Regions from separate parts of the Homo sapiens genome. Here all the other regions are linked to region 1. The links are contacts of gene promoters, found by promoter capture Hi-C in blood cells and fetal thymus (Javierre and others, 2016). All regions are on one chromosome and are shown on one strand. The core of a region is centred on a gene start or on the middle of the fragment in contact, and the rest is flanking DNA. Distances in the headings are between cores, read along the strand shown. Region 1 holds the start of ZBTB11-AS1 (ZBTB11 antisense RNA 1). Region 2 has its middle 9.1 kb from the start of CMSS1. Region 3 overlaps CMSS1 (cms1 ribosomal small subunit homolog). Region 4 overlaps CMSS1 (cms1 ribosomal small subunit homolog). Region 5 overlaps TBC1D23 (TBC1 domain family member 23). Region 6 has its middle 6.0 kb from the start of NIT2. Region 7 overlaps TOMM70 (translocase of outer mitochondrial membrane 70).

The links. Contacts are between HindIII fragments. The CHiCAGO score rates a contact against its expected background, and 5 or more counts as called.
Region 2: a fragment that was not itself captured here is called in contact with the fragment with the promoter of ZBTB11-AS1 in region 1 in 1 of 17 cell types (total B cells); the score reaches 5.6 in total B cells.
Region 3: a contact is called between a fragment that was not itself captured here and the fragment with the promoter of ZBTB11-AS1 in region 1, in 2 of 17 cell types (total B cells and fetal thymus). The highest score is 8.3, in total B cells.
Region 4: a fragment that was not itself captured here is called in contact with the fragment with the promoter of ZBTB11-AS1 in region 1 in 2 of 17 cell types (M2 macrophages and total B cells); the score reaches 5.6 in M2 macrophages.
Region 5: a contact is called between a fragment that was not itself captured here and the fragment with the promoter of ZBTB11-AS1 in region 1, in 1 of 17 cell types (monocytes). The highest score is 5.4, in monocytes.
Region 6: a fragment that was not itself captured here is called in contact with the fragment with the promoter of ZBTB11-AS1 in region 1 in 2 of 17 cell types (total B cells and M2 macrophages); the score reaches 5.7 in total B cells.
Region 7: a fragment that was not itself captured here is called in contact with the fragment with the promoter of ZBTB11-AS1 in region 1 in 1 of 17 cell types (M1 macrophages); the score reaches 5.3 in M1 macrophages.

What each region holds. Positions count from the first base shown.
Region 1 is chr3:101,675,076-101,677,756 of GRCh38, reverse strand. It overlaps ZBTB11-AS1 (ZBTB11 antisense RNA 1), which reads right to left and starts at 1,327. Exons shown (of 1, transcript NR_024407.1): 1 at 1-1,327. It overlaps ZBTB11 (zinc finger and BTB domain containing 11), which reads left to right and starts at 625. Exons shown (of 11, transcript NM_014415.4): 1 at 625-1,152. The coding sequence starts at 843. LOC124906262 (endogenous retrovirus group K member 5 Gag polyprotein) reads right to left here and starts at 1,312. Exons shown (of 3, transcript XM_047449415.1): 1 at 1-1,312. RefSeq lists an enhancer at 933-1,487 and a silencer at 1,204-1,573. The HindIII fragment of the contact is 10,842 bases long and covers 1-2,610 here.
Region 2 is chr3:99,807,401-99,810,081 of GRCh38, reverse strand. No RefSeq gene overlaps it. Among named protein-coding and RNA genes, the nearest start is that of CMSS1, 9.1 kb to the left of the region's middle. The HindIII fragment of the contact is 1,074 bases long and covers 768-1,841 here.
Region 3 is chr3:99,830,184-99,832,864 of GRCh38, reverse strand. All of the region lies in intron 1 of CMSS1 (cms1 ribosomal small subunit homolog), which reads right to left. FILIP1L (filamin A interacting protein 1 like) reads left to right here. Exons shown (of 6, transcript NM_001387850.1): 6 at 2,260-2,681. The coding sequence ends at 2,451. All of the region lies in intron 1 of LOC105374010 (a long non-coding RNA gene), which reads right to left. Among named protein-coding and RNA genes, the nearest start is that of HP09053, 7.7 kb to the right of the region's middle. The HindIII fragment of the contact is 649 bases long and covers 979-1,627 here.
Region 4 is chr3:99,872,701-99,875,381 of GRCh38, reverse strand. The region is part of intron 1 of CMSS1 (cms1 ribosomal small subunit homolog); the gene reads right to left. All of the region lies in intron 4 of FILIP1L (filamin A interacting protein 1 like), which reads left to right. The region is part of intron 1 of LOC105374010 (a long non-coding RNA gene); the gene reads right to left. Among named protein-coding and RNA genes, the nearest start is that of HP09053, 50 kb to the right of the region's middle. The HindIII fragment of the contact is 2,943 bases long and covers 1-2,681 here.
Region 5 is chr3:100,309,075-100,311,755 of GRCh38, reverse strand. It overlaps TBC1D23 (TBC1 domain family member 23), which reads right to left. Exons shown (of 19, transcript NM_001199198.3): 14 at 1,214-1,353. Among named protein-coding and RNA genes, the nearest start is that of NIT2, 24 kb to the left of the region's middle. The HindIII fragment of the contact is 4,750 bases long and covers 1-2,681 here.
Region 6 is chr3:100,327,428-100,330,108 of GRCh38, reverse strand. No RefSeq gene overlaps it. Among named protein-coding and RNA genes, the nearest start is that of NIT2, 6.0 kb to the left of the region's middle. RefSeq lists a silencer at 1,677-1,907. The HindIII fragment of the contact is 4,443 bases long and covers 1-2,681 here.
Region 7 is chr3:100,370,191-100,372,871 of GRCh38, reverse strand. TOMM70 (translocase of outer mitochondrial membrane 70) reads left to right here. Exons shown (of 12, transcript NM_014820.5): 9 at 150-266. Among named protein-coding and RNA genes, the nearest start is that of TOMM70, 30 kb to the left of the region's middle. The HindIII fragment of the contact is 1,772 bases long and covers 489-2,260 here.

The sequences.
Region 1 (2,681 bases), core at 78-2,577:
CGTTTGTGTAAAAATATATGTAAATAAAGCCTTAAAATAGTGTTACCGACCCCCTTTTCCACTCGCAATAACATTGACTATAAATGCTGATAATTCCAAAAGAATCTCGACTCTTCCTTGAGTAGTCTGGAGCTAGCAGGTGCAAGTTTAGAAACAATAACTCATCACTGAGGGAGGCACTGAAAATTTTATAACTGTTAACTGGAATCTAAATTTCCATGTAAATGGGCTGTCTCTGGTCCCGTGTCAAGAGACTAATATTTTTCCAGAAGCCTGAAAATATGCTTTTATGATGTTGGGAGTCTCAAACGTAAAAACGGACTCCTAACCCTCTGGATGTTTCGGCTGAACTCTCAACTGTCCACCAGCTCCCCCTACACGTGGCTCCTTAGAAAGCGTGGAAAAGGGAAAAATGAAAAGAGAAACTGCCAGGACTTAAGATGTCTGCTTAAAGACTCCCTCGAACTGCAGTGAAGGGTCCTACCCGCTTCCAAAATGTCCACCCGCATTCCTGACGTCACTGGATCGGCTCCATCAAGCCAGAAAACGAGAGTGCGCTCCAATCAGGGCTCAGTCCCCGCCCTTGCCTTGCGTCACTTCCGGTGGTGCAGCAGCCATTTTGTCAGTCGCCAGCGGATCCCGCGCGCTGGAGAAGTGCAGTTCCCCCTGGTTACCAACTCGCCCGCTTTTCCTTCGGACTAAGGGAGCCGTCGAAGAGCGCTCGCCAAAGGCGCAGCCGTTTCTCCCTACGGTGCCGCCGCTCCTCCTGCAGCCGCCCGTAGGTAGCGGGCCGTTTTCCTCACCTGTCCCTGACAGGCGCCCTCAGGGAGCCGCGGTCCGCGATGTCAAGCGAGGAAAGCTACCGGGCCATCCTGCGTTACCTGACGAACGAGCGCGAGCCGTATGCGCCGGGCACCGAGGGCAATGTCAAGCGTAAAATCCGAAAAGCTGCCGCCTGCTACGTGGTGCGCGGCGGGACTCTGTATTACCAGCGGCGGCAGCGGCACCGCAAGACCTTCGCGGAGCTGGAGGTGGTGCTGCAGCCGGAGCGACGCCGGGACCTCATCGAGGCGGCGCACCTGGGTCCCGGCGGCACTCACCACACCCGGCATCAGACCTGGCACTACTTGTCCAAGACGTACTGGTGGCGAGGTGAGACCTAGCCCGCGGCGAGGGGGCGGGCTGGCGACTCGTTGCCTGGGCAAGGCTCGCTGGCGAGGCCTATGCGTACCCACGAGTCGGAGGGTCTCGGACGCCTCTGGGCGGCGGAGCTGCTGCCAGGCGGAGCCGAGAGGGTGGGGGACGCGAAAGGAGCCGCACTTCCCACAGGAAGGAGGCCGGCGAAGCTGGGGGCGGGCCCTGGCCCTGGGTGGGACCAAGGGGGCTTCCCCGGAGGCCGGGCCAGCCGCGGGGAGGGGCCGGACGCCTGGGCTGCGCCAGGTCCGCCTCCTTGGGCGGCCCCTTGAGGCTGTAGGCCCCGGCCCTCTGGAGGTGGCGTGTGGCTCGCGGCAGTGGAGGCTGCGGGGTGCACGTTTTCGACTGTGCTGACGTTTGGAAGGGGGGACGAGTCACCCGAAGCCGGGTCTCCCGTTTCTTTAGTGCTGCGCTTGGGTTTTGGCGAGCGAGTATGAGCTGCTCTGGACACATTCGCTAGTGTTCCTCAAATTTTGCCGCTGCTGCGTAAATAAGGAATAATACAATTATTTGCAGAAGTGATAAGGAGTGATTGAGAAATCGCCTTGAGCGTTTTTTTTTAAGAACAAGAAGTAAATGTAAAAGATATCAGTTACTGTTTTTGTTGTTTGGTTTTGCGGGGGCGGGGTGTTTGAGTAGACACGGGTCTCGCCTCGTTCCCCAAGCTGGTCTCCATCTGGCCTCAAGCCATCCTCCCGCCTCGGCCTCCCAAAGTGTTGGGATTTCAGGCATGAGCCACGGCGCCCAGCTTGATATTCGTAACTCTGAATGTTTTAATAATCTTTCCCCTAATGATGTGAAAAACGCGTTTGGGAACTGTGTAGCATTGTATATACGCAGAAAAGGTACGATTACTGTGACTTTTTGATTGTCAAAAAATACAGCTCTGAAGTTACTTGACTCCTTGGGAACCAGTTGTAAGGGAGGATAGCAAGTGTCCTTGGCTTCTTAACCATCTTCACTCTCCACAGTTAATGAATATTCAAACTGTCAGAATTAGTTAATAGTTTATAGTCCCATTTAAGAAATTTTGTTAGGAACAGTGCTGTCACTCTCCAATATGGCTACAGAAAAGTTATTTCATTCAAATCTTGGTTACTTCGTCTGTGAATAACGAAATTACTGAATAGTTTCTAAAGTTCTTTTCGGTTTATAAACATCATCAAGTTTATTCGTTTACGAACTATTGGATAATCAAATTCTTCCATTTATTTTCCACTTTAAACCAATATCTGAATTAAATTCCTGTAAGGACAGACAAATGCGAAGATTAAATTATGAGGTAATGAAGTAATCAGTGCATTTTGTTTGGATGGGTTTGGGTAGACATTAGTTTGTTGAACAAATGTCTCAGATTTAATACTTCAGGATTTGTTAAAGATGATAATTGTAACTATAGGTAACATTGATCAAGCTTGTATATGCAGGATGTAGTCGTTAGCCCTTGACATTTATTTAACCTTCATAAAACCTTAATACTTATCTCC
Region 2 (2,681 bases), core at 55-2,554, 1.9 Mb after region 1:
TGCATGCCAAAGGGTGAGAGAGAAATTACAAATGTTCAGGGAACTGCAATGTTGGTTATATTTTTAGGAGTTTGGTGATCTGAAGCATGCCTGGGAATCCCCTTCAATGTAAAGGAAAATTTTTTGTATCTCTCATCTTCCCCTAAGAGAAACAGTATTTTGTGCAGATAGCCTATGCCACATTTGGAAATAGTGTTCTAACTCATTTATCAGGTGACTCAAAAGGCTGCCATTTTTGAATAGGGTCAAGAGAAGGGAGGGCTCAGCAGCAAGTCTTGGCTACGACACAAGCTGCCCTGCCACTCAGGCCATAATGACATGGCAGATCCAAAGGTGCTGAGTGATAGATAATGATGCTGGATGGAATCTCTGGCAGATCCTAAAGAGAGAATCACGGTGCCTGCTCCAAGGATTTTCTAGTACAGCTTTGCCTTCTACAGCCAAACCATTTGAAAAGCAGCTGTGGGCAAAATGTAGAGTCCTAGCAGAAACAGGCACTTGACTATGGAATATCAAATGACTATATGACCAGAACTGCCCTTCAGGAATTGGCTCTTGTAAGGTTGGGTGCTCACAGTAACAATCCACTGAACAACAGAAATGGTATACATGCGAGCACATGTAAGCAAGTCCAAAAGTCACAAGATACATGAACAGATGGCTCAGAGCTCCTTGCCTTTTGTGTTCCTCAGCTCACACCTATGTCCTCTGGGTTATTCTCTATGACCAGCTGATAATGTTGGAAAATGCTCAAAGCTGGTTAAGCTTGGTATGTTGGTAGAACTGAAAATGGATTGCTACTACACTGCGGTTCCACTCAGGGAGGATCCTTAAAGGACAGAGGTGAACAGAATCCTGGTTGGCAGAGCTTCAGTACATGCATTCATCTCCTTTGAATGGAGAAAATAGTCTGAGGTCAGTGTAAATGTAGGGCCTTGAGCAACAGTGAATGGTATGGTTGATTGGGTGAAAGGTCTCTAAGATAGAATATGTGAAGTTCAATAATAAAGAGACCTGAGGAAGAGGCATGTGGAGGGACCTAAAGGAGTGAGCACAAAGTGTGTGTGTCTTTGTGGCACATGTGTGTGTCCACCAGAGAGTATCCACTACAAGTGAAGCATTGACCAACCAGGTGGACAATGCGGTAGATTGTATTTTTCAAAGATGGCCACCAATATCCTCCATCTCACCTACTCTTCTTGTAATCTGACCTTGACAGTTCTCCCATTGAGTGGTGGGATCTGTGTTCCCTTTCCTTGAACCTTGGCAGAACTTTATCATGTCAACCAAGAGAACATGGTAGAAATGATATTCGGTGACTTCTGAGGCTAGATCCCTAAAATTCTGTGCATTTCCACCTTGCTCCCTTGGGATGCTCACTTGGAACCCAGGCATCACTCTGAGAAAGCTCAAAGTAGCCCACACAGAGAAACCCTGTGGAAAGAACACGTGTAGCTATTCTGGTCCACAGCTCAGCTAAGGTCCCTGCTGACAGCATCCACAGCCAGACCTATAAATAAAGATACCCCCAGGTGATTCCAGTCACCAGCTGTTGATTGATCCCAAGCTGTGGTCCAAGACATCATGGAGCAGAGGCTAGCCATTCCCACTATGACCTTTCTGAATGTCTGACATAACAGAATTCCTGTAAGAAGAAAATGACTGAAACCTGCTTCTTGAACTGCTGTTTCTATCATGGCCACGAGAGGGAGACCTTGTTCCTTAGGGACCTGCAAGCTGCCAAAACCGTATTCCTTTGTTGGTCCCTGCCTAGATTGGCAGTGGATTTTCCTTCCTTCTCCTGACAGGGCCTGCTGAGGTCAGGTGGCTGAATTAAAGCTTCCTTTTTCTAATCTTATGTCTTCAGTATGTATGGACTCTGTAAAGATCCTCTCATTTAGGGGAAGAAAAACCTGATTGTTAACTTTGCTTTTGTAATAAGAGAATTAGCATGCAGATTGCATATTTGGGCCTGAGGAAAAGGAAATCCAGTCATTTGGGTTTGTACTTTGAAGTTAATGGGTGAAGGCAGAGCATCTGCGTCCAGCAGCCAGGTCTTAAGGTCTCTAGAAGGTAACATCCACTGAAGTAGAGGAGGCACAGAAAGTGGCAGTTTCCATAATGGTCTGCAGAAGTGTTCCTGGGAGAGCTGGGATTTGTGGTTTTTGGACCACCAAAATGTTGCTGCTTAGGCCCCTGATGCATTATTGGTGAGAAGTGCAGTGAACTTGGAGGTAAGGGAGGCTGCTGGAAGTCATTTCCAATTGCCTCCTATGGTTTATTCCTATTGATAAATAGTTTACCCTTTAGTTTTACTTTTTAACATCATTTTTTGAAATTGTAAAATATACATAATATAAAATTTATTATCTTAACCATTTTTAAGTATATTAAGTACAGTTTAGTTCAGTGGCATTACGTACATTCACATTGTTGTGCAACCATCACCACCATTCATCCTCAGAACTCTTTTTATCTTGCAAAACTGAAACTCTGTGCCCATTATACAAAAACCCCCCTCACTCGAGCCACTGGCAACCACCATTCTGCTTGCTACCTCTATGAATTTGACTACTCTAGGTACTGCATATAAGTACAGTCATACAATATTTGTTATTTTGTGACTGGCATAATGTCCTCAAGGTTCATCCATGTTATAGCATGTGTCAAAATATTCTTCC
Region 3 (2,681 bases), core at 54-2,553, 1.8 Mb after region 1:
AAACAACTTTTTTTTTTTTTTTTTTGAGACAGAGTCTTGCTCTGTGGCCCAGGCTGGAGTGCAATGCTATGATCTCGGCTCACTGCAACCTCCGCCTCGTGGGTTCAAGCGATTCTCCTGCCTTAGCCTCCAAGTAGCTGGGATTACAGGAGTGCGCCACGACGCCCGGCTGTTTTGTATTTTCAGTAGAGACAGGGTTTCACCGTGTTGGCCAGGCTGGTCTCGAACTCCTGACCTCAAGTGATCCGCCCGCCTCAGCCTCGCAAAGTGCTGGGATTACAGGTATGAGCCACTGCGCTAGGCCTTTTTTTTTTTTTTTTTAAAGATTTGGGAATGGCTGGGCGCAGTGGCTCACACCTGTAATCCCAGCACTTTGGGAGGCCAAGGCGGGCGGATCATGAGGTCAGGAGATCGAGATCATCCTGGCTAACACAGTGAAACCCCGTCTCTACTAAAAATACAAAAAATTAGCCGGGCGTGGTGGCGGTCGCCTGTGGTCCCAGCTACTGGGGAGGCTGAGGCAGGAGAATGGCGGGAGCCCGGGAGGCGGAGCTTGCAGTGAGCCGATATCGCGCCACTGCACTCCAGTCTGGGTGATACAGCGAGACTCCGTCTCAAAAAAAAAAAAAAAAAGATTTAGGAATGACAATTGGGGTTGTTCTGATAAAATAACAAGCCTTTGCTGCCATCTAGAGGTAAAAACTACGTAATGAAAATGGAGTTACCTAGAAAACAAAAGCTTGCACATCAATGGTGTAGAAACAAGTAGGAGCCCAGTAACCTTCAGGCAGCTGGGCCTGAAAGTATCAGTGACCACCATTCCAAGCCACATTTTCTTCACCAACACGTATCAGTGTTGCTCAAAAGAAACGAGCTCCACCAATACTGTGTGTCATACCAATCTGTCTCGGCCTTTCACAGTATTGAACTATGCATACCCAGGTAGGCTAGAGTTCCAGGTGAAGAAAAAATAAAGCTTACATCTAAAGGAAGTTCAATTATGGCAGCACTTTTCCAAGTGTGGTAGGCCAACCACCTGAGTTGAAGAAATCACTCTGAGAGTTTATTAAAAATGTGAATTGCTGGACATATCCACAAACCAATGAATTACAATGCATAGGAGTAAGATTCAGAAATCTACAATTTAAAGACGATCCCAACATAGATTTTTGAACACTAAATTGGAGACCCAATCTAAATCTTGATAAAGTTACAGGACATCACAGAAATCCATCTTGGGAAGGCTATTATTAATGCTATAGTCACAATATTAGCAGACTTGATTAGTCTGTCACTGACTTCAACTGCAGCTTCTACTGCTCATGGCTTGGATAATATGGTTGTTCACAGAAATGTCCTGATCTCCAAGTTGTTTCCTTCCTTTTTCGTCTTTTAAAACAATTTAGTGTTCCTTTTTCTCATAGCATACTTACTATAAAATATGTGGAGAACACAGAAAATGTAAGAAAAATCAAAAGTACCTGTAAGTCCACTAATCAGGGTTAACAACCAATAGCATGGGTGCATTTTCTTTTAGTATTTTTCTCTTCACATGTAAATAATTAAAGCATGTACACAGTTTTAAATTCTACTTTTAACATATCTAAGTAAACGTTTTCCTGAAGCTTTGGCCTCATTAACAAAGCATGTTGTCATAATTATACTATAATTCATTTAACACATCCTATTCATTTAACTGTCCATTTTTCATCATTATAAACAATGCTAAAATCAAATATCCTTGACTGCCTCTCTACATCCTAGAAAAGATTCATAAGGCTCTTGATACATACTACCAAGCTGTTCCACTAATCATCATTGGAGCTGCCCATCTCACTCATACTGTGAAAACTTTTAAAAGTCTGAAGGCCCAAGTCAAATGCCATATTCTTCATGAAGCACTCTTAAAGACAATCTCATTCGAAATTAACCTTTCTCTGGCAATCTCATGGCTCTTTGAGATTAATTTGGGACACTACTCTTGTATATGTCCTACTACACCGTGATTGCCAAATATCTATTCATCTCTGTATCTACCACTATCTCTATCAAGAACTGTGCACACAGCACACATTCAACACACACCAGATTACTTTACTGACATTCTTTTCTTCAACCTGACGATCTTTGATCTGATACATCCCCAGAAACTGGTGCTTTCAAAGCCAAATCCTCCAAACTGACTCCATGTCCTAAACAATTTCTACTTCTCCACCAACTGTACCATTAATTACCTTTTGTTCTCTTGTTTAATTCAAGATCAAGGAGGTATGCAAGCAGAGAATCCCAGCACGGATCCCTAAACCGAAATCTACAGGCATCACCAAGATTTCCACTAAAGCCCCCACAGTGCCTATGGATAAGCCTATTTACCAAAATGGCTGTGGGAAGCTACACATCGTGAGAACTGTCACCTCCAACACCTTCCTCCACGTGGGAGGGAGAAGGTAACTCATACCAATGCACTGCCTGGATACATTCATCTACAGAAATATGTGGAAAGCTAAAATTACCACTATGAAAGGCCAAAGGACCATCTCTCCAGGAAATGGTGAAGCAGCTTTGTGGACCTGATGAAGATCATCCCCCAAAAAGCAGCACGTCTACAATTATTTTACTTCTATATGTGTATATGCACACACAAACACTCGCAGGCCTAGACCCACACCCAAATCTACCCA
Region 4 (2,681 bases), core at 61-2,560, 1.8 Mb after region 1:
TAGTAGTATATTATGTAAAAAATGCCAATTTAAAAGGTAAAACTTATAGAGTAACTGTATTAATCAGTAACATTTTAAACCATAATTAGTTACATCTAAATCCTGAAGAGGCTATTGCTACCAATGAACTCTTACAGTATGATAACTGAACACTTGGCAGAAAAATCTCCATAATATTTTACTTCATTTTTTCCAACTAAAAGTCAACGTAGGAATTAAAAATAAAAAGGTTATGTCAACTTTAGAACACTGGAATAGGAGATGAAAAATTGATTCATCATTCAATCCTTATCTGGTCTAAACATATATTGTAAAATAAAACTTTAACAACTATGTGACAGAATTGTCCCTTTTAAAACAGTCTCTATGTTTTATAAGTATATACAATTCAAACTCAGAATTCATAGGCTGCCATTTATATTTACTCTGAGATTTTAAAATGCTGGCATTTTAGTTGGCACTAAAATGACCATATAAGATAACTGTTTGGAGGTACAGTAAAAGTTTAACAGAGGAGCAGAGCACTATAACCACTGAGGTGTATGTGTGTGTTACAAACTCATGTTTTTATATTTAATTGTCAGAAGAAAATGTCAGATCCCAGATTTTATCATTGAAACACAGCATTTAAAAAATACTCAAAATGTGGGTTATATCTGTATATTTCTAATAATTTCTGTTGGATGGTTTTTAAAAGTATATGACATTGGTGCCTATCATTTTTGCCTCATAGCAGTTTTTTTGTTTTTGCTAATTTTGTTTGGAGCAATGCACGACTTTGGTTTTCATATTTTAAAAGAAAAATTATATGTTATTTGGCCTGAGGATAGGCTATATAAACTGCAGGTTAGTACTGAGAAGTAGGATTTTCCACAAACTATTATTTCAAACCTAGGGAAGCCCACCATAATGAGAAGAGCGGGGCCAACACCCATGTCACTGTGGAGAAGTACAGAATATGCAATGGAAGAGTTGTTTATCTGATATAAGCGGTAATTGGAAACTGAAAAATTCCTGCTCTGGAAAAAAGATATTCTGCTCTTCTGAATCTAACAGAGGAAGAGACAAACAGAAACCATCAATTATTGTTTCAGGTATACCCAGAGTACCATCTGTACCATAAACTACAACTCAACTGTTGAAAATCATAACTTCCATCAAAATTCTAACAGCTGTGTTTCCCAGTGTCTTTTATTTTTTTAAAGCAGGCAAGCATCGATTTTTTAAAATTTAAAAATAACACTCTTTAATATTCCACACTTTTTCCCATTTATTAACTTTAAAGCATGGTTCAAAGAACAATCACATAAGACCTCTTTTAAAACTGAAAGCTAAGTATGACTTATCATGGATACCCTATCTCACACTGGGCTCTTTGGATGAGCAATTTCTTAGTCCTTGGGACAATCTGTATGATGGGAAAATGTTTTTGATAGAATGAATGTGAATTTCTACACTTCCAAATAAAGCACATAATAATTTTATGCTTAGTAAGTTCATTTGCACTTTTGTGGTGATTAACCTTAACTGTTAAGCCCTGGTATTTTTGTGCTATTTTCCTAATGCTGTGATGGAGACTATAGTAACAGCCAGTATGAAAACACAAATCAAGCCTTGACTTAATTTTCCGGTTCTCTTGCAGTTCCCATTAATTTGCCTTCTCAAAAGGCTGTAAATTTTGTTTAAGGGTTCTCTGCTGTAATTTCCCCTCCAAAAAAGTGCCTTTGGTAATAAATGGATTTTGAGATTTAAGAAAAAAAACTGAAAATGTAGGAGGAAGAATAAGATTCCAATAATTCTGCTTAGGTCATGTTCTGTCCATGTCTAGTGCTTCAGGGCAAAGTGAACATTTTACAAGGTGAATAGAAAAAAAACATACAGCCCCTCCTATTTAAAGGAAAAAGGAAGAGGGGCAAGAAGAGAACTGTTTATAAAAGACTGGATATTGTGGATGTAAGGCAATATTGGTCTCAACCTGCTTCAGGAACTGAAATGGCCCCATCTGTTGTTCACAGAGCCTGTCATCTTTGAAAAATCTAATACACCCTACCTTATCTGTTGGACATATTAATTTTAAACGATTTTAAGGTCCATTTAATTTGTATTTGACCATGAATTCAGCTTCAATTTAAACTGATTGTTTAGTTTTTGTAAATTATATTTAAATAAGGATTTAAAGATGAAGAGACACTGCATATGCAGCCAGCATCACAAACCTTCAAAGCAATATTTCTGTGGTTGCTGCTGTCATCACCACAACATTTTCTAGCCACCAACCCAGTCACTTATGCTTAAAGTGTGCTGCAATGACTTTTAGAACCTCCTATGGCTGGTCATTTTCTACTTAAAATGAGGTAGGACATTCATGTTTTGAGTCATTTTGTTAGGTACACTAATTCCTAGCAGATTATCACCAACACTTATCAGCCTTTGCACATCCCTCCTTTTTTTAAAAAAAAAAAAAGACTTGAGATTCTCCTTGACCTTCATCTGCACTAACATCGTCTCTGCCTGGGAAAGCTGGGCAAACAAAAATGGGAAGGCTTACCAAGGAAAGTCCCTGGTTTCTTTTTCAGATATGAGAAACACTCCCTCTTCATGCTTGTTCTCTGAGATGCTTTAGCAGATTAAGATAGGACAGCAGCAGTTTTAATTCTGAGCCCAAGAACGAGAACACATTA
Region 5 (2,681 bases), core at 117-2,616, 1.4 Mb after region 1:
ACAGTTTAGTTTTTCTCACCCAGAGTGTACATTATAAAGAAGATGTTTCCATCATCCCAAGTACAAAGAAAAACAAAGAAAAGCCAATTTCAACTAATCAAGGCAGCAGTCTTTTTGACTTAGTTATCACCAGTACATTTTAAAACAAATAAATTTTAAAATAAAATTGTAAATGTTCATGCTACAAAATGTAGCAATAATAGTCCTCCAACTCAGAAGCACCAACAAAAGGTAAAAGGGTTAGCTTTTGAGAAGACATAACTTTACTGCATAAACAAGTCTTTCAGGCTTGATAAAACACCTTAGTAATTATCAGTTGACCATTTTAGATAAGGTACAATGTTTTGGATCAATGAAAATAATCTATTACCTTCTCGGCTATTTACTAAATGCAGAAAAATGTGCTTTTGTATGCATATATACTATACTTAATAAAGGGACAGACAACAAATCCCTGACATTCAATTCTTAAAGTAAAATATGTCAGTTTTCCCAGGATACTGCAAGACATGAAAGTGAAACCAAATACTATAACACATTTCCAATATGAGGCTTCCTTAAAACAAATTCTGTGTTGCAATTATAAGGTTAGCTTTGAACTCTAGGAACAAGAAAGATCAAACAGACTTATACGTGGAGAAAAAAATGTATCCTCAGTTACAATAAGAAACAATATATATAACAGATATTTTTAAACTTATTTCTAAATTGTTAACCATGTCCCTCATTTGTAATTTACAAGGAAATGGGGTTTTGTAAACGAAATTCTATGAAGGTCTGATCTTAAACATCAGAAGGTGGGTTTCTGCTATATTTAGCATGACCAGATTTTCTAGGTTTTAAAATCTTGGAGCAGAAGAAGAAGTTCCTACTATGAGATCACTGAATTCGGCAGATGATTCTCCATCCATTTGACATTTGGGAAGCAGCTACTATATGAAATGTGATACATACTGGGACATAAATTTCTTTTAGTGAATGGCATGATGTGACAGATACATTATTTGCATCTTTGAGTAGTAAGAGAGAATAATTATGGATATAAAGTACATTCCTGCAATTCTAATGAAAACTATGAAATCATCTAATAGAAAATATACTTTATAATCCTTTTCTGGAACACATTAAATTCAACTAACATTTACTTACTCTAAGACATTGTTTCTTTAGTTTTAATTACTCATCATAAACTCATACTGTATAAACAACTCACCGATCCACAGGAGTTGATGTATTCTCTATAAAACTGATAACTTTTTCCCTGACATTAACGGATTTTGTCTTCAAAGCCACAGTCATTTTATTTACTAGTGATTTCATTCCTCTATCACTTGAGCCATTAGGAGATTCACCCTAAAAAAAGAACATAATGGATTAACTGCCTCTGAATGACTAAAAGACATACTACTGCTAATGGTTATCTACATGTTATAGACTGAATTGCAATCCCACCAAAATCATATGTTGAAGTCCTAACTCCCAGTATATCTCAGAATGTGACTGTATTTGGAGACAAGGCCTCTACAGGCATAATTAAGGTTAAATGAGGTCTTCAGGTGGTCTCTAATCCAGTCTGACTGGTGTCCTTATAAGAGAGAAAGACATGAGCACATGAAAACAGAGAAGCCATGTAAGGACACACAAGGCAAGGCATCCATCTGCAAGCCAAGGAGAGAGGCCTCAGGATAAACTAAACCTGCCAATACTTTCATCTTGGACTTTTAGCCTCCAGAACAGTAAGAAAATAAATTTACATTGGTTAAGCCCCCAGTTTGTAGTATGATATTTTGTTGCGGCAGCTGCAAACTAATTCATTAGGTGAAATCATTTTAAGAATAGAAGGTAGATGCTGGGCGCGGTGGCTCACGCCTGTAATCCCAGTACTTTGGGAGGCCGAGGCAGGTGGATCATGAGGTCAGGAGTTCAAGACCAGACTGGCCAACATGGTGAAACCCCATCTCTACTAAAAGTACAAAAATTAGCCGGGCGTGGTGATGGGTGCTTGTAATCCCAGCTACTCGGGAGGCTGTGGCAGAGAACTGCTTGAACCTGTGAGGTGGAGGTTGCAGTGTGCTGAGATTGTACCACTGCACTCCAGTCTGCGCGACAGAGCGAGACGCTGTCTCAAAAAAAAAAAAAAAAAAAGAAGGTAGAATAAAAAATTTAGGATATACTTGCACATATATGTGCGTGGAGTCTGACATTATCTTTTTTATTATATAAGAAACAGTTAAAACTACTGACCTTTCTTATCTCAGACTAGTCTACAAAAATAAGCAAAAGTATGATCAAACTACTATTTGCACATATGTGAGTGTGGAGCCTGAAATTACCTTATTTATTCAATAAGAAATAGTTAAAACTATTAACCTTTCTTATCTCAGACTAGTCTTCAAAAATAAGCAAAAGTATAATCAAACTACTATCCATGCAGCTACATTTTTAAATATCCCTTGTAAATGTTTGCTTTTTAAAGACATTGCCACTTAGGCCTTTATTTTCTGAAGAAAAGTTATCCTGATGTACCAAATGTAAGAGATGCGAGTATAATTCTTTTTTGTGTTTTTTGTTGTTGTTGTTTTGAGACAGAGTCCTGCTCTGTTGCCCAGGTTGGAGTGCAGTGGTGCGATCTTGGCTCACTGCAACCTCCGCCTCCTGGGTTCAAGCAATTCTCCCTGCCT
Region 6 (2,681 bases), core at 59-2,558, 1.3 Mb after region 1:
TAGTAAACATATGTTTATTTACAAGAAATGGCCAAACTGTTGTCTAGAGTGTCTGTACCATTTTGTACACCCACCAGCAATGTATGAATGTTCTAGTTATTCCATATCCTCACCAGCACTTGGTATTGTCATTTTTTGTTTTTAATTTTAGCCATTCTAACTGGTGTGGTTTTGATTTACATTTCCCCAACAGCTAATGATGATCTTTTCACATGCCTATTTGCCACCCATCTTTCTCTGAAGAATTGCTTCTTTTCCCCATTGTTTTGTTTTCTTATTGTTGTAGTGAAAATCTTTATATATTCTGAACACAAATCCTTTGTTGGTATGTTTTGCAAGTACAGTATTTTTCCCCAGTATGTAGCTTGTCTTTCCCTTCTATTAAGTGTCTTTTGCAGAGCAAAATTTTTAAATTTAAGATTTTTTTTTTTTTTTTTTTGAGATGGAGTCTCTCTCTGTCACCCAGGCCGGAGTGCAGTGGTGATCTCGGCTCACTGCAACCTCTGCCTCCCAGAGTCAAGTGATTCTCTTATCTCAGCCTCCCAAGTAGCTGGGATTACAGGCGCACGCCACCAAGCCCGACTAATTTTTGTATTTTTAGTAGAGAGGGGGTTTCACCTTGCAGGCCAGGCTGGTCTCAAACTCCTGACCTCGTGATCTGCCCGTCTCGGCCTCCCAAAGTGCTGGGATAATAGACATGATTCATTCTTATGGATTGTGCTTTTCATATGTCTAAGAACTATGGCCTAACCCAAGATCATGAAAATTTTCTCCTGTTTTCTATTAGTTTTATAGGTTTACATTGCACATTTAGCTGTATGATGCATTGAGTTAATTTTTGTATAAGGTTTGAGGTATATAGGTTGAGATTAATTTCTTTGTATATGGGTATCTAGTTGTTCCAACAGTGTATGTTGAAAAGACTATCCTTTCTCTATTGAATTGCCTTTGAAACTTTGCTCAAAACAACTGCCCATTATTTGTGGGGGTCTATTTTTTTCATTTTATTTATTTATTTTAGTTGTTTTATTTCCATAGGTTATTGGGGAACAGGTAGTGTTTGGTAACCTGAGTAAGTTCTTTAGTGGTGATTTGTGAAATTTGGGTACACCCATCACCCGAGCAGTATATACTGCACCCAATTTGTAGTATTTTATCCTTCACCCCCTTCCCACTCTTTCCCCGAGTCCCCACAGTCCATTGTCTCATTCTTATGCCTTTGCATCCTCATAGCTTAGCTCCTACTTATGAGTGAGAACATACGATGTTTGGTTTTCCATTCCTGAGTTACTTTACTTAGAAAAATAGTCTCCAATATTATCCAGGTCGCTGCGAATGCCATTCATTCATTCCTTTTTATGGCTGAATATCATATATATATATATATCTCACAGTTTCTTTATCCACTCATTGATTGATGGGCATTTGGGTTGGTTCCACATTTTTGCAATTGCAAATTGTGCTGCTGTAAACATGTGTGTGCAAGTTATCTTTTTCTTACAATGACTTTTTTTTTTTTGAGATGGAATCTTGCACTGTCACCCAGACTGGAGTGCAATGGCACAATCTCACCTCACTGCAATCTCCGCCTCCTGGGGTCAAGCCATTCTCCTGCCTCAGCCTCCCGAGTAGCTGGGATTACAGGTGCCCACCACCATGCCCAACTAATTTTTGCATTTTTAGCAGAGACGGGGTTTCACCATGTTGGCCAGGCTGGTCTCGAACTCCTGACCTCAGGTGATCCACCTGCCTTGGCCTCCCAAAGTGCTGAGATTACAGGTGTGAGTCACCGTGACCAACCAATGACTTCTTTTCCTCTGGGTAGGTACCCAGCAGTGGGACTGCTGGATCAAATGGTAGTTCTACTTTTAGTTCTTGAAGGAATCTCCACACTGTTTTCCACAGTGGTTGTACTACTTTACATTCCCACCAGCTGCATAGACGCGTTCCCTGTTTACAGCATCCATGCCAATATCTTTTTTTCTTTTTAATTTTTTGATTATGGCCATTCTTGCAGGGGTAAGATGGTATCACATTGTGGTTTTGATTTGCATTTCCCTAATCATTAGTGATGTTGAGCATTTTTTCATATGTTTGTTGGCCATTTGTATATCTTCTTTTGAGAATTGTTTATTCATGTCCTTAGCACACTTTTTTTTTGTGGTAGAACAAAATTTGATTGTTTATATGCCCTGAATTTTTTTAAATTATACTTTGAGTTCTAGGGTACATGTGCACAACGTGCAAGTTTGTTACATATGTATACATGTGCCATGTTGGTGTGCTGCACCCATTAACTTGTCAATTACATTAGGTATATCTCCTAATGCTATCCCTCCCCCCGCCCTGCACCCCACGACAGGCCCCGGTGTGTGATGTTCCCCACCCTGTGTCCAAATGTTTTAATTGTTCAGTTCCCACCTGTGAGTGAGAACATGCGGTGTTTGGTTTTCTTTCCTTGCAACAGTTTGCTCAGAATGATGGTTTCCAGCTTCATCCATGTCCCTACAATGGACATGAGCTCATCCTTTTTTATGGCTGCATAGTATTCCATGGGCACACTTTTTGATGGGATTTTTTTCTTGCTAATTTGAGTTTGTTGTAGATTCTGGATATTAGTCCTTTTTCAGATGTATAGATTGTGAAGATTTTCTCCCACTCTGTGGGTTGTCTGTTTGCTG
Region 7 (2,681 bases), core at 125-2,624, 1.3 Mb after region 1:
TACCTACTTGGAACCCTTTTGGATGCTGCAGATTATGTTAGCAAATCACCTGTTTTTTTGGAAATATTTATGTAATTTTGTGTGTTTATGTTAACATTCCATGAGTTTTTGAGTTCTTGATTTGACAGGCCTGTTTTGATTTTTTATAGTACCGCCAGGCATATACGGGAAACAACTCTTCACAAATCCAAGCAGCTATGAAAGGTTTTGAAGAGGTCATAAAGAAATTTCCAAGGTGTGCCGAAGGCTATGCACTATACGCCCAGGTAAATGTTTTTTCAGGTTTTTTAAAAATAACTGCATACATATGCCAAATCTCAGTATGGAAATCAGAAAACAGTGCTATCATGGTTGCAGCTTCTTTGGAAGCAGGTGGCTTTGTTCCTGATTGATTCTCATGGCCCCTGGTTGGTCCCGAATCACCTCAGAAGAGGCTCCTTTGTTACACAATTTGGAAATCATGGCCCTAAACTCAATATGGGGAAGCTTAAGGCGAGAATTTCCCTCCTGTCTTCATTTGGATTGGTTTTGCAAAAAGTAATTACCTTAGGAAAATTTACCGTATGCAATTGGTGGAGAAAATATCCACGGAAAGGCTTTTCTTTCTATCTGGTCACTGCCTTTTTATATGGCTAGGTTGTTGTAACGGTTTATTTTAATTTATCTTTGCTTTATCTAAAATTCCTGAAACTCTCTTGGTTTAGGATTGAAGCTATGGAAAGCAGGATTTAAATCTGAATTTTTTTATTGTAGTCTGAAATTCTTGAAAACTTCTTAGTTTTAAATCATCCATTTAAATGAAAATGATTAGCTTCTTGTAGTGACGGTCATACATTTTCCCCTCAAATAAAAGATCTCTGAATGACTCAGTTTTCTTTCTTAAAGCTGAAAATTGGTTTTGGTGTCTACATAAACTAGCCATCTCAATACTCTATATCAGGGGTACAGCTGCTTTGTGGCCTCTTAGGAATGGGGCTGCACAGCAGGTGAGCCTTGGGCAAGCATCACCACCTGAGCTCCACCTCCTGTCACTGTCAAATCTGCAGCAGCATTAGATTCTCATGCCTGATGATCTGAGGTGGAACAGTTTCATCCCAAAACCATCCCTCCTCCTCCTACCCCCATCCATGCAAAAATTGTCTTCCACAAAACCAATCCGTGGTGCCAAAAGTGCTGGGAAGGTGTTGGGGACTGCTGCTCTATGTAATTTATTTTTCTTTTTTTTTCTCTTTTTAATTACAAAAGACATGTTGGGTTTTTCCCCACAGCACAGAAATAGGAAACGATAACAAATTACTATCCCCTGGCTGGGTGTGGTGGCTCCTGCCTGCAATCCCAGCACTTTGGGAGGCTGAGGCAGGCGGATCACTTGAGCCAGGAGTTTTGAGACTAGCCTGGCCAGCATGGAGAAACCCCATCTCTACTAAAAATACAAAAATTAGCTGGGTGTGGTTTGGCGCACACCTGTTATCCCAGCAACTCGGGAGGCTGAGGTAGGAGAATCGCTTGAACCCAGGAGGCGGAGGTTGCAGTGAGCTGAGATCACACTACCACACTCCAGCCTGGGCAAGAGTGAGACTCCATTTCCAAAAAAAAAAAAAAAAAAAAAAAATACCATCGCTGGTTGACCCCTCTCCTTAAACCATTCTTAAGGATGCTTATTTTGTTTTTAATTTCCTTCATGGTATCTGTAGGCAGGTTATAAGAACAATTTCACAAGGATTTTAAGGGTTTATTGAGGGTGGAACTATGAGAAAATTGATTTGTGTTGGATCTGTTCTTTAGAGGTAGGTCTTATATATAACTACATTAAAGTGTACATTTTAATCCTATGAATGGGTACACTTGAGTTTATGCCTTATAATTAGTAACAAACCAGGAAATGACAGCAACATCCTCATCATTGTCATGGAATTCAGAAGGGCTTTTTTGGTGCAGATTTCTCTAAGCATCTAGAAGAGCAAAGGCCACCGAATAGGAACCACTACTGGGGAACAACTCCTCTGCAGAACTTTCCCAATAGCATATTTCCCTATTACCATTCTGCCTTCAAGATAGGTTTGGTTTGTATGAGCTGTCTTCTCATCAGCATTAGCATTATTACAGTCAGTTTGCACTCAAATTTCTTTTCTTTGGTCTGTTTTCTAATTTTAGCTTCACTATATAGTATATGTAACTTTATATATGCATACAGTACGTGTGTGTGTATGTGTATGTGTATATATATATACTTAGTGTAACTTTTTTGGCCCTCAAAGCTTTGGCGTAGATGCTGGCCAACTCGCAAAGTTACAGCTTGAGCATAGTCTGATATCCACAGAACTGTGCCTTCCATTTCAGCCGTGGGATTTGTCTTAAAAAGTTGATTATAGCTGCTGCTTTTGTTTTCAAAATAAGTATTTATTACATTATTGTTAACTATGACAAACAATTGGGGAAAATCCTAAATGTTAACAGAAAATTGAATTATGTTTGCAGAATTGTGGTACACTCACTTAATGGTATATTATGCAGCCATTAAAAGTTACAAATACATTAAAGTTACAAAGCAAGATACAGCACTGCCTATTATTAAAGGGAGAATTGCATACAAAATGAACTCAACCATGTGAAAGAAAACAAATAGGGAAGTAAATAGAGATAGAAAAATATATCAGGAAGGCATCCATGCTCACAATGAT